Linked DNA regions of Homo sapiens: region 2 is linked to region 1. The links are contacts of gene promoters, found by promoter capture Hi-C in human tissues and cell types (Jung and others, 2019). All regions are on one chromosome and are shown on one strand. Each heading gives the region's core, a stretch centred on a gene start or on the middle of the fragment in contact. The rest is flanking DNA. Distances are from core to core; before and after follow the strand shown.

Region 1 (6,265 bases), core at 707-3,206:
GTCTTCTCTAACTCCCCCAGGGAAAGGGAGTCTCCCTTTCCCGGTCTGCTAAGTAACAGTTATCTTCCCAGGCACTGGCACCACTGCTAGACCAAGGTCTGCTAAGTAACGGGTGCCTTCCCAGGCACTGGCATTACCACTAGACCAGGGAGCCCTCTAGTGGCCCTGTCCGGGCATGACAGAGGGTTCACACTCCTGCCTTCTGGTCACTTCTCAGCATGTCCCTTCAGCTCCTATCTCTGTATGGCCTGGTTTTTCCTAGGTTATAATTGTAGAACAAAGATTATTATAATATTGGAATAAAGAGTTATGCTATAAACTAATGATTAGTAATATATATAATCATAGCTATAATCTATTTCTAGTATAACTATTCTTATTCTATGTATTTTCTTTATTATACTGGAACAGCTTGTGCCCTCGGTCTCTTGCCTTGGCAGCTGGGTGGCTTGCCTCCCACATGGCACTGCTGGGCATTGTCTGTTAATATTGAATAATTGTTTTAAGATTATTTTCAATAAGGCTTTACCTTTTTTAACTTGCACTGTGGCCATGAGCTCTGCTGGAAGTGACTTGTTGGTGTTATCTCCTCAGTTATAAAGTGAAGGGATTTTTCTTTTTCAGATTACTGAGAGTCTTCCGTTACTAGGTAAGTCACCGCATCCTTATAACTCCAGGTGACACTGACTGGGGTTTATGGGATGAAAGAGGAGTGTGTGCTTGGATGATGGGGTGTGATAGTGAAGGGGTGAAAGGTTTCTTCTCACACATAGACATCGTGAGGTCTTCCTTGAGCTCTTTAGAGCCTTCCCTCGGGATAGGATGAAATACTGAGATCCTAGAAAGGATTCACAAAACGTGTCACTCATCAGCGCAGATTCACCGATTCACCCCTAGATGTGTGTGGGATTTGGATGGCAGAGAGAAACAGGCACTGAAGATTTTTGGTCAGGACAGGGCAGAGAAATAAGAAGAGTTGAAAATTCACCAAAGGATAGATAAACCCAGGGCGTTTAGAGAAAACCTGTAGTGTGCAAAGGAGCCCAGAATCCTGGGGCAACTTGGAGGGAAATATACTTAATTTGATTCACTAAGTTAGGCCCAGTGAAGGGATTGGGTGGCATAGGTAGAAGCCGAAAAATAAAGTATCTTGTATTGCTGGAGTAGCCTCTGTTTCTGAGGTCACATCCAAACTTAGCGAGGCAGCTTAACCTGGTGAGAGACATGGGTTCAACTCCTGGCTTCTGCACTGCTAGGGCAGAGGACTGCTGTTTGCTGACACAATCTTGGTGCGTTGGAAGTGAAAGGGAAGAGGCACTGGTGGCTGTGCTTTGGGCCCGAGCAGCCAGAAGCCAGTTGCCATCACCTATGACGAGGAGACAGCGCCTGGGGCAGAGCCCAGTATGGGGTGCGTTCAGGGTAGATCAGGAGGTATGAGTGGGTAGTGGGCGAGCCAGGCTGGGGGTTGTGGGGGAGGCCTGCATTGCAGGTGTAAGCGTGGGACCCACATCAGATTGGTAGTGGGTCATGCATGCTGGGCTGGCTCTCAGGTCCTCCCTGCTGGCTTCCCACTCCCAGGGGCTTTCTCCTCCGATTCCTTAGCTGGGTGAGGGGCGGGACAGAGCCCTTTCTTAGGGAAGCCCGGCACCCCTTGCTGTCCAGGGAAGGGGAGTCCTTCTAGCCCCTGACAGCTTCTCTGCCCCTCCCCTGGCCTCCCCAGGCCTAGCCAGGGCTGGGTTCTCACCCACCTGTGCCGCCCTGCCTTGTTACCTGGAAGCACAGCCTTGGGGACTGAGCAGGCCCTCACTGTCACTTTAAGAAGGGAATCAGCCACTTTGTGCTCACCACCTCTGGGGAAGGTGTGAGAGGAGAGAAGGAAGTGGCTGTTTGGCTGCTGACAACATGAAGACTTCCTGCGATGAGAACAGAGGCACAGGTGCCGGCCCTGCAGCCCCCAGAACCTGGACTGGAGGGGGCCATGGGGCACCGGACCCTGGTCCTGCCCTGGGTGCTGCTGACCTTGTGTGTCACTGCGGGTGAGTGCCGGCACCAGAGAGGGGCAGGGGCTGCAGGGAGGGTGATGTAGGACAACAGCCCACCGACCTTGCTGCTGTTCCACAGGGACCCCGGAGGTGTGGGTTCAAGTTCGGATGGAGGCCACCGAGCTCTCGTCCTTCACCATCCGTTGTGGGTTCCTGGGGTCTGGCTCCATCTCCCTGGTGACTGTGAGCTGGGGGGGCCCCAACGGTGCTGGGGGGACCACGCTGGCTGTGTTGCACCCAGAACGTGGCATCCGGCAATGGGCCCCTGCTCGCCAGGCCCGCTGGGAAACCCAGAGCAGCATCTCTCTCATCCTGGAAGGCTCTGGGGCCAGCAGCCCCTGCGCCAACACCACCTTCTGCTGCAAGTTTGCGTCCTTCCCTGAGGGCTCCTGGGAGGCCTGTGGGAGCCTCCCGCCCAGCTCAGACCCAGGTGGGGCCGGGGCGAGGGGTCCAGGAGGGCAGGGAGGGGCTCGGGAACTGGCCACCCATCTGATTCTTGTCTCCGTGCCCAGGGCTCTCTGCCCCGCCGACTCCTGCCCCCATTCTGCGGGCAGACCTGGCCGGGATCTTGGGGGTCTCAGGAGTCCTCCTCTTTGGCTGTGTCTACCTCCTTCATCTGCTGCGCCGACATAAGCACCGGTGAGACCTGGTCCCTGTCCACGTCCCCCTGACACTGGGATGGCCACATGCCCTGCAGAGCTCTGACCATCCTTGCTCTCTCCCAGCCCTGCCCCTAGGCTCCAGCCGTCCCGCACCAGCCCCCAGGCACCGAGAGCACGAGCATGGGTGAGGAGGGGACCTGCTTTGGGGATGAGGTGACAGGGGCAGGGGCAGGGGGGCCAGGGCTGGGCCCAAGCTGTGCAGACTCACTTGACCCTCCTTCCCCCGCGCAGGCACCAAGCCAGGCCTCCCAGGCTGCTCTTCACGTCCCTTATGCCACTATCAACACCAGCTGCCGCCCAGCTACTTTGGACACAGCTCACCCCCATGGGGGGCCGTCCTGGTGGGCGTCACTCCCCACCCACGCTGCACACCGGCCCCAGGGCCCTGCCGCCTGGGCCTCCACACCCATCCCTGCACGTGGCAGCTTTGTCTCTGTTGAGAATGGACTCTACGCTCAGGCAGGGGAGAGGCCTCCTCACACTGGTCCCGGCCTCACTCTTTTCCCTGACCCTCGGGGGCCCAGGGCCATGGAAGGACCCTTAGGAGTTCGATGAGAGAGACCATGAGGCCACTGGGCTTTCCCCCTCCCAGGCCTCCTGGGTGTCACCCCCTTACTTTAATTCTTGGGCCTCCAATAAGTGTCCCATAGGTGTCTGGCCAGGCCCACCTGCTGCGGATGTGGTCTCTGTGTGTGCGTGTGTGGGCACAGGTGTGAGTGTGTGAGTGACAGTTACCCCATTTCAGTCATTTCCTGCTGCAACTAAGTCAGCAACACAGTTTCTCTGATGTCGGCCTCGGCTGTGCTTCTTCTTTGGGGGTGAAGAGAGTGGGGAGGCAGTCTCCACCCCTGGGAGGCAGAAGCCAGGTGAGAACCAGAGTGGGTTGGGGCCTCATTGCAGGGCTGGGGTTGGCCCAGGGAGAGGGCAGTGTCCCAATCTTAGAGATCTGTCCTGGCTTCTCAGAGTGGCAGGGGTGTTGGGGGAGCTTCCTGAGGGACACCTGTGGCTGCCTAGATAGGGCTGGGGGATCCCAGTGGGATGGTCTCTGCTCCAATCCCACCATGTTCTAGGACAACAGCAAGGGTTCCTGGGGCTTTGGCCTGAGAGAAGTCCCTGTGGTTTGACCTGGCTTCCCTCTGCTGGGCTCCCTGCTGTGGCCTGGGCTGGGGTCCTGATGCCCTCCTTCCACAGCTGGCGTTAGGCAGGGTGTGGAGAGTAGGGGGACTCACCTGAAATCTTCCCTCAATCACTTCCCCCGCCTCCTCTCGGGGAAGGCAGAGGCCTTCACAGACATGGGGGACTCCCCACAAAATGTTCCATCCAGAGCCAACCTTTCTGCTTGGTAGAGCTGTGTCTCCCCCTCAGCCTAGTTCCAGGGCGGGTCCGTGTCTCCCACCCCAAACTAGTTCCAGGGTGGGTCCCTGTCTCCCACCTCAGACCAGCTTTGGGGCTGGTCCGTGTCTCCCCCTTCAGACTATCTCTGGGGCAGGTCCATGTCTCCCACCTCAGACTAGCTCCAGGGCAGGTCTGTGTCTCCCCATTTAAACTAGCTCTGGGGCGGGTCCGTGTCTCCCCCATCAGACTAGCTCCGGGGCGGGTCTGTGTCTCCCACCTCAGACTAGCTCCAGGGCAGGTCCATGTCTCCCACCTCAGACTAGTTCTGGGGCGGGTCTTTGTCTCCCCGCTCAGACTAGCTCTGGAACGGGTCCTTGCCTTCCCACTCAGATTAGTTCCGGGGTGGGTCCATGTCTCCCCGCTCAGACTAGCTCCAGGGAAGGTCTGTGTCTCTTCCCTCAGATGAGCTCCTGGCAAAGCCTCCCCCGTCAGACTAAGACTCCTAGGCAGAGCCGTGCCTCCCCCTGGTCCAGCCGGCGACCCCTCATGCCCAAGGCAGCCCTACCCATTGAAGTAGGACATGACATCCATGAGGAGTGTGGCAACAGCAGGCAGCGTGTCGGGGTCCAGGCTGGTGACACAGAACCTGTTGCTCGGGCTGGACAGTGGGTGGATGACCGGCATCTGGACTGTAAGAGCACAAAGATGTCAGGCACTGAGGCTGGGACTGAAAGCAGCAGCTCTGGTGAGTGCAGGGCCTGGGAAGAGGGCTGGGGAGGGCTCAGCCGCAGGCCCTGAGAGACTCATTCACTGCTGCTTCTCCAGCCTCTACCACCAATTACCACCGTCCTGATTCTCCATCTCACTCTCAGGCCCCTGGGCCTTTGCACATGCTGTGCTGGCTGCCTGGGATGCCCTTCCCAACTGGCACCACCTGGCCCCGTTCCTACCTGTGTTCCAGGCTTCAGCACCACAGTCCCTGCCCAGGGAAACCCACCCTGACACCTGGGATTGCAGCAGGAGTGGCCTCTGGCCATTGCTGTATGCATGCACGTCCACCACCCTTGCTAGACATGGCAGCAGGGCCTGCCCAGGACCTTTCCATCACATTTTTTTTTTTTTGAGATGGAGTTTTGTTCTTGTTGCCCAGACTGGAGTGCAATGGCACAATCTCGGCTCACCGCAACCTCCGCCTCCTGGGTTCAAGTGATTCTCCTGCCTCAGCCTCCTCAGTAGCTGGAATTACAAATATGCACCACCACACCCAGCTAATTTTGTATTTTTAGTAGAGACCAGGTTTCTCCATGTTGGTCAGGCTTGTCTCAAACTCCTGACCTCAGGTGAATTGCCTGCCTCGGCCTCCCAAAGTGCTGGGTTTACAAGCATGAGCCACCACACCTTGCCCTTTGCATCCCGTTCTGCCTGGCACTCCATTCATGCTCAGTGGGCAGAAGCCCGTGCTGAGAGCAAGGCTGGTCTACGGCTTGGCCTGGTAACTTCGTGAGGTTTCCCCGCACAAACCCCCGCCCCCAGCTCACCCAGCTTGGGCTTCACGAAGCCACTGGTGATGCCGAGGTTCTCGGCTGCTACAGTCTAGCCACTGACCACAGGATGGTGAACTCTGATGACAACGTGTGGGTGACAAAGGGCAGGTCCCGCTTGAGCACCTAGGGGCAAGAAGTTGAGGCTGTGTGTGCCTGGTGGCCCTGGGGCACCAACCTCTCACCCTGAGACTCTGCCCCCACCCTGGAATAGCGTGGAAGGGCAAGGCTGCAAGGGGTGGGAGATGGGAGTGAGTGTGTCAGAGGCGGGCCCAAGTGTGCAAGGCGTGTCTGTGATGGTCAGCTCACCAGGATGAAGTCTGTCTGATACGTGGACAGCATGAACACGGATATGTTCTGGTCAGCCAGTGGGGCGATGACTGACTTGGCGATCTTGGTCATGCCAATAGGCTGGGAGCTGGAGAAGCTGCCACCGCCGGACACCACGTTCAGGGCCAGCCAGGTGGCATCCGCCACACTCAGGTGCTCCGAGGAGGGCAGCTCTGGAGGGAGACACAGAAGGCAGCCCTGTGACTGCTGAGGTTCCAGCTGTCCCAAGGGCAGGGCAAGGTAGGCCAGAGAGGTGGAGAGTGAGGCTCTGGGGCCAGCTCTACCCTGTGCCTTGCCTCACTTTCCAACAGGATTTTTTTTTTTTTTTTTTTTTTGAGACAGTCTTGCTCTGTCA
Region 2 (6,265 bases), core at 1,486-3,985, 57 kb after region 1:
GATTACAGGCATGAGCCCCCACACCGGCCTTTTTTTTTTTTTTTTGAAATGGAGTCTTGCTCCCTCGCCCAGGCTGGAGTGCAGCAGCACGATCTTGGCTCATTGCAACCTCTGCCTCCCGGATTCAAGCGATTCTCCTGCCTCAGCCTCCTGAGTACAAGTGCGCATCATCATGCCCAGCTAATTTTTGTATTTTTGGTAGAGACGGGGTTTCACCATGTTGACCAGGCTTGTCTCGAACTCCTGACCTCAGGTGATCTGCCTGCCTCAGCCTCACAGAGTGCTGGGATTACAGATGTGAACCACTGTGCCTGGCCAAAATGCTAATATTTTGGCAGCACTTTGGGAGGTCGAGGCAGGCGGATCACTTGAGTTCAGGAGTTTGAGACCAGCCTGGCCAACATGGTGAAACCAAACCCCACCTCCACTAAAAATACAAAAAAATTAGCTTGGTGTTGTGGCGGGCACCTATAATCCCAGCTATTTAGGAGGCTGAGGCAGGAGAATTGCTTAAACCTGGGAGGCAGAGGTTGCAGTGAGCCGAGATCATGCCACTGCACTCCAGCCTGGGCAACAGAGTGAGACTCTGTCTCAAAAAAAAAAAAAAAAAAAAAAAAAGCAGAGTGAAGTCAGCACCCAATTCAACATGGCAGGTTCTAGAGAGGTTCAAATCATGATGGGGCAGGGTGCGATGAGGGGAGGTCCCTTCTGTTACAGGCTACTGTTAGTCCACACTTCGTCTGACCTAGTGGCCTTCTGTGCATGGCGGCCACCCAGCATAGATTTTGATGATTTCCCATGTCACAAGCCCTGTCTTCACAAGGTGAGCTTCTGCAGCCTCCCTGTGGCTAAGATGCAGGCACATCACACCTGTGTATGGCTCAGGTTCAGAAGTGAGCAAAAGGTGCATGGATGGGATTTCAGAGAAGGCAGCAGGGATTTGTCTGGTAACAATTACTATATACTACATAGCTCACACTTAGTGGAGAAAAATGACAAAATAGCCCGGTGCAGTGGCTTATGCCTCTAAGCACGGTGGCTCATGCCTGTAATCCCAACAACTTGGGAGGCTGAGATGGGAGGATTGCTTGAGACCAGGAGTTTGTGACTAGCAAGATCCTGTCTTAAAACATTAAAAAAAAAAAAAAAAAAGCTGGGGATGGTGGCACATGCCTGTTGTCCCAACTACTTGGGAGGCTGAGGCAGGAGAATCACTGGAACTGAGGAGTTCAAGGCTGCAGTGAGCTGTGATAGCACCACTGCACTGTTGTCTGGGCAGCCAGGCAGGACCCTGTCAAAAAGAAAGAATGAAAGAAAAGAAAGACAAAAGAAAGAAATGAAAAGCCAAAGAAAGAAAAGAAAGATGAAAGAAAGAAAGAAAAGAAAGATGAAAGAAAACAAGAGAGAGAGAGAAAGAGAAAGAAAAAGAAAGAAAGAAAAAGAAAGAGGAAGAAAGAAAAAGCAGGAAGGAAGGAAAATAGGAAATGACATTATATTAACTCATGAATTCTTTTTTTTTTTTTTTTTTTGAGATGAAGCCTCACTCCATCACCCAGGCTGGAGTGCCGTGGCACAATCTCAGTCACTGCAACCTCCGCCTCAAGCAATTCTCATGCCTCAGCCTTCCGAGTAGCTGGGATTACAGGTGCACACCACCATGCCCAGTTAATTTTTTTGTATTTTTAGTAGAGATGGGGTTTCACCATGTTGGCCAGGCTGGTCTCAAAGTCCTGATCTCAGATGATCTGCCTGCCTCGGCCTCCCAAAGTGCTGGGAGAATTCTACTTTTTTTTTTGAGACAGGGTCTCACTCTTACCCAGGCTGGAGTGCAGTGGCGTCATCACGGTTCCCTGCAGGCTCAAGCGATCCTCCTATCTCAGCCTCACAAGTAGCTGGGTCTACAGGCACACACCACCACACCTGGCTAATATTTGTATTTTTTGGTAGAGATGGGGTTTCATCATGTTGCCCAGACTGGTCTCAAACTCCTGATCCCAAGTGATTCTCCCACCTCTGCCTCCCAAAGTGTTAGAATTACAGGTGTGGGCCACCGTGCCTGGCCTGAACTCACGAATTCTATAGGTTGTGAATTCAGACAGGGCCTGTGAGAAGTTTGTCTTTGCTCTGTGGTATCTGGCCTTTACTTGGAAAGGCTTGAATGCTGGCGGTGATTTGGATGCCTGGGGGCTGGGGTTGCCTGGAAGCTTCTTTACTCTGTGTCTGAAGCCTGGTTGATGGGTGCCTCTCTCCATGGGGCTAGGGCTTCTCACAGCTTGGCAGCTGGATTCCCAGAGAGGACATTGCAGGGAGAGTCTGGAGAGCAAATGTGCCAAGAAAGTCAGCTGGAAGCCACATGGCCTTTTATGACTTAACCTCAGAAATCAAGCTGGGTGCGGTGACTGCTGGATGCGGTGGCTCAAGCCTGTAATCCCAGCCCTTTGAGAGGCTGAGTTGGGCGGATCATTTGAGACCAGGAGTTTGACACCAGCCTGGCCAACATGGTGAAACTCTGTCTCTACTAAAAATACAAAAATTAGCTGGGTGTGGTGGTGCGTGCCTATAATCCCAGCACTTTGCGAGGCTGAGGCGGGCAGATCACTTGAGGCCAGGAGTTTGACGCCAGCCTGGTCAAGATGGTGAAACTCTGTCTCTGCTAAAAATACAAAAATTAGCCAGGCGTGCTGGTGCATGTCTACAGTCTCAGCTACTCGGGAGCTGAAGCATGAGAATTGCTTGAACCCAGGAGGCAGAGGTTGCAGTGAGCCGAGATTGTGCCACTGCACTCCAGCCTGGGCAACGGAGCAAGACTCCATCTCAAAACAACACACAAAAAAAGAAATCATAGGGATGTCACCTGCATGGTATTCTCTGGGTTGAAACAGGTGCAACCCCAGCTTGAGTTAGGGGAGGGGGCTGATATAGTCTGAATATTTGTCCCCTCTAAATCTCGTGTTGAAATGTGATCCCCAATATTGGAGATGAGGCCAAGTGGGAGGTGTTTGGGTCATGGGGGCAGATGCCTCATGAATGGCTTGGTGCCCTCCCTGTGGTAATGAGTGAATTCTTGCTCTATTCACATGAGAGCTGGATCTTTAGAAGAACCTGGCATGTCTGTTGCTCACCACGTGATCTTGTCGGCCCGCCTTCATCTTCCACTATGATAGGAGGCTTCCTGCGGTCCTCACTAGCAGCAGATGCTGGCACCATGCTTCTTGCACAGCCTGCAGAACCACGAGCCAAATACACCTCTTTCCTTTATAAATCACCCAGCCTCAGGTATTCCTTTATAGCAACAAAAATAGATTAAGACAGGGTCATAGACCCTGCTTCTTGATGGAGGAGTGACAAAGTTACTTTGTGGAAGAGCATGTTGGATGAAGTTACTATTGCAGCCATTTTGGGAAAATACAACTCGCCATTTAGAAACGTGAAGTCCTGGAGAAGGTGTGGCTGTGGAAGCTGCCACAGCTTCATTTTCTTTCTGCCTGCCTGCCTGCCTGCCTGCCTCTCTCCCTCTCTCTCTCTTTTTTTTTTGAGACAGAGTCTCGCTCTGTTGCCCAGGCTGGAGTTCAGTGGTGTGATCCTGGCTCACTGCAATCTCCGCTTCCTGGATTCAAGTGATTCTCATGCCTTAGCCTCCCAAGTAGCTGGGACTACAGGCGCCCACCACCACACCCAGCTAATTTTTGTATAGTAGAGATGGGGGTTCACCATGTTGGCTAGGCTGGTCTCGAACTCCTGACCTTAAGTGATCCACCCACCTCAGCCTCCCAAAGTGCTGGGATTACAGGCGTCAGCCACTGTGCCTGGCCCACAGCTTCATTTTCTTATCAGGCCAGTTCTGCCCCACGGTGCTGGGTAAGGGTCCTAGAACTTTAAGCCTAGACTTTATTTCTTCAGCTTTCCAAAAGATCCTGTTCTCTTTTCAATGTTTTAAAATTAAGCTTTTTGGCCAGGTACTATAGCTCATGTCTGTAATCTCTGCACTTTGGGAGGCCAAGGTGGGAGGATCGCTCGAGGCCAGGAGTTTGTGACAAGTTTGGCCAATACAGTGAAACCTTGTCTCTATAAAATAAATAAATAAAATAAGGCTTGTTATCTTAAGATAATTGTAGATTCACTTGCAATTGTAAGAGATTATTACCCAGAGAGCCCTCGTGCCCTTCATGCAATTTCCCCCAACGGTAACAGCTTGCAAAACTAGAGTACAATCTCACAACCAGGAAATTGCCTTCAATACCATCCACTGAACTTACCCAGGTTCTATCAGTTTTACATGTAATTGTGTGTGTGTGTTTAGTTCCATGCAATTTACTCAGTGCTCTAAAAATAGACTCTTCATCTTACAATGTTTTTAAATTTACAGAAAAATTGTTAAGACAGTAGGATTCTCATATATCCTGTACCATTTCCCCCTTTTATTAACATCTTGCACTGGTATAGTATATTTGTTACCGTTAATGAACTGAAGTTAATACATTGTAATTAACTGAAGTCCATACTTTAGTTAGACCTCCTTAATTTTTACCAATTTCCTTTTTCTTTTCTTTTTCTTTTTTTTTTTTTTTTTTTTGAGACAGAGTTTCACTCTTGTTGCCCAGGCTGGAGTGCAATGGCGCAATCTTGGCTCACTGCAACCTCCGTCTCCCCGGTTCAAGGGATTCTCCTGCCTCAGCCTCCCGAGTAGCTGGGATTACAGGCATGCGCCACCACCCCGGCCAATTTTGTATTTTTAGTAGAGACGGGGGTTTCTCCATGTTGGTCAGGCTGGTCTTGAACTCCCGACCTCAGGTGATCCACCCACCTCAGCCTCCCAAAGTGATGGGATTATAGGTGTGAGCCACCGTGCCCGGCCCAATTTCCTTTTTCTGTCCGAAGATCCCATCCATGACACCATGTGACATTTAGTAGTAATGTCTTCTTAGGCTCCTCTTGGCTGTGATAGTTTACAAAAAAAAAATTAATTTTCTTTGAGACAGTCTCACTCTGTCACTCAGGCTGGAGAGTAGTGGTGTGATCATAGCTCACTGCAGCCTCAATCTCCTGGGCTCAAGTGATCCTCCCTCCTCAGCCTCCCATATTTTTAATACAGACAGGGTTTCACCATGTTGGCTAGGCTGGTCTTGAACTCCTGACCGCAGGTGATCTGACCTCAGGTGATCTGCCCGCCTCGGACTCCCAAAGTGCTGGGATTACTGGTAGGAGCCACCACACTTGGCCAGTTTACTTGATATTTTAAAAATAAATTCCTCTGCTATGTAAACTGACCAGAATGGATTCTGTTGATTGCAACTAAGACCCATAACTGATACAGTTGGCATTCAAGCCTCACGCTGGCTAATTTTGTGTGTGTGTGTGTGTGTGTGTGTGTGTGTGTGTGTGTGTGTGTGGTAGAAATGGAGTCTTGCTATGTTGCCCAGGCTGGTCTCAAACTCCTGGCCTCAAGTGATCCTCCTGCCTTGGCTTCCGAAGAGCTGGGATGACGGTGTGAGCCACCACACCTGGTCAGTTTATTTGACATATTAAAAATAAATTTGTGGCTAGGCGAGGTGGCTCACACCTGTAATCCCAGCACTTTGGGAGGCCAAGGCGGGTGGATCACTTGAGGTCAGGAGTTCGAGACCAGCCTGGCCAATATGGTGAAACCCCATCTCTACTAAAAATACAAAAATTAGCTGGATGTGGTGGCACACGCCTGTAATTTCAGCTACTTGGGAGGCTGAGGTGGGAGAATAGCTTGTACCCTGGAGGCGGAGGTTGCGGTGAGCCAAGATCGTGCCACTGCACTCCAGCCTGGGCAATAGAGCAAGAATTCGTCTCAATAAATAAATAAATAAATTCATTCATTCATTTCTTTGCTATGTAGACTGACCAGAGTAGATTCTGTTGCTTGCAGCTAAGACCCATAACTGATGTACTTGGCATTCAAGGCTCACTGTGGTGTGGTCTTTGCTTACATCTCTGGTCCCATCTGCCACTATTCCCAGCCTAGTACTTTACCTTCCAGTGAGAGATCTCTCTCCTTCTTCCATACTCTCTCATGGCCTCTGACTCTTGTACAGGCTGACAGATCCATATTTATTTCACCTCTGTCATCACCTCCTCTGGGAAGCTTTCTGTGATTTTTCCCAGCAGCGTGGGGTGCCTGCCTCTCACCTGTATGTCCACAGTTCTTCGGGGCAGGGCCATATGCTCGTTAAAATCATGGTTTCTGGCCAGGTATGGTGGCTTATGCCTGTAATCTCAGCACTTTGGGAGGCCAAGC

What was found. Contacts are between HindIII fragments. The study calls those that stand out against the background at their distance.
Region 2: a fragment that was not itself captured here is called in contact with the fragment with the promoter of PVRIG in region 1 in 1 of the 25 tissues and cell types used here (adrenal gland).

Annotation. Positions count from the first base shown.
Region 1 is chr7:100,217,993-100,224,257 of GRCh38, forward strand. It overlaps PVRIG (PVR related immunoglobulin domain containing), which reads left to right and starts at 1,957. Exons shown (of 5, transcript NM_001397246.1): 1 at 1,957-2,036; 2 at 2,122-2,472; 3 at 2,555-2,681; 4 at 2,768-2,828; 5 at 2,936-3,498. The coding sequence starts at 1,979. The coding sequence ends at 3,259. It also overlaps a transcript of STAG3 not described here and the pseudogene CASTOR3P. RefSeq lists enhancers at 1-18, 1,847-1,976, 2,037-2,106, 3,497-3,596, 3,617-3,716 and a silencer at 3,027-3,076. The HindIII fragment of the contact is 32,066 bases long and covers 1-6,265 here.
Region 2 is chr7:100,273,931-100,280,195 of GRCh38, forward strand. No RefSeq gene overlaps it. Among named protein-coding and RNA genes, the nearest start is that of SPDYE3, 31 kb to the right of the region's middle. The HindIII fragment of the contact is 4,585 bases long and covers 444-5,028 here.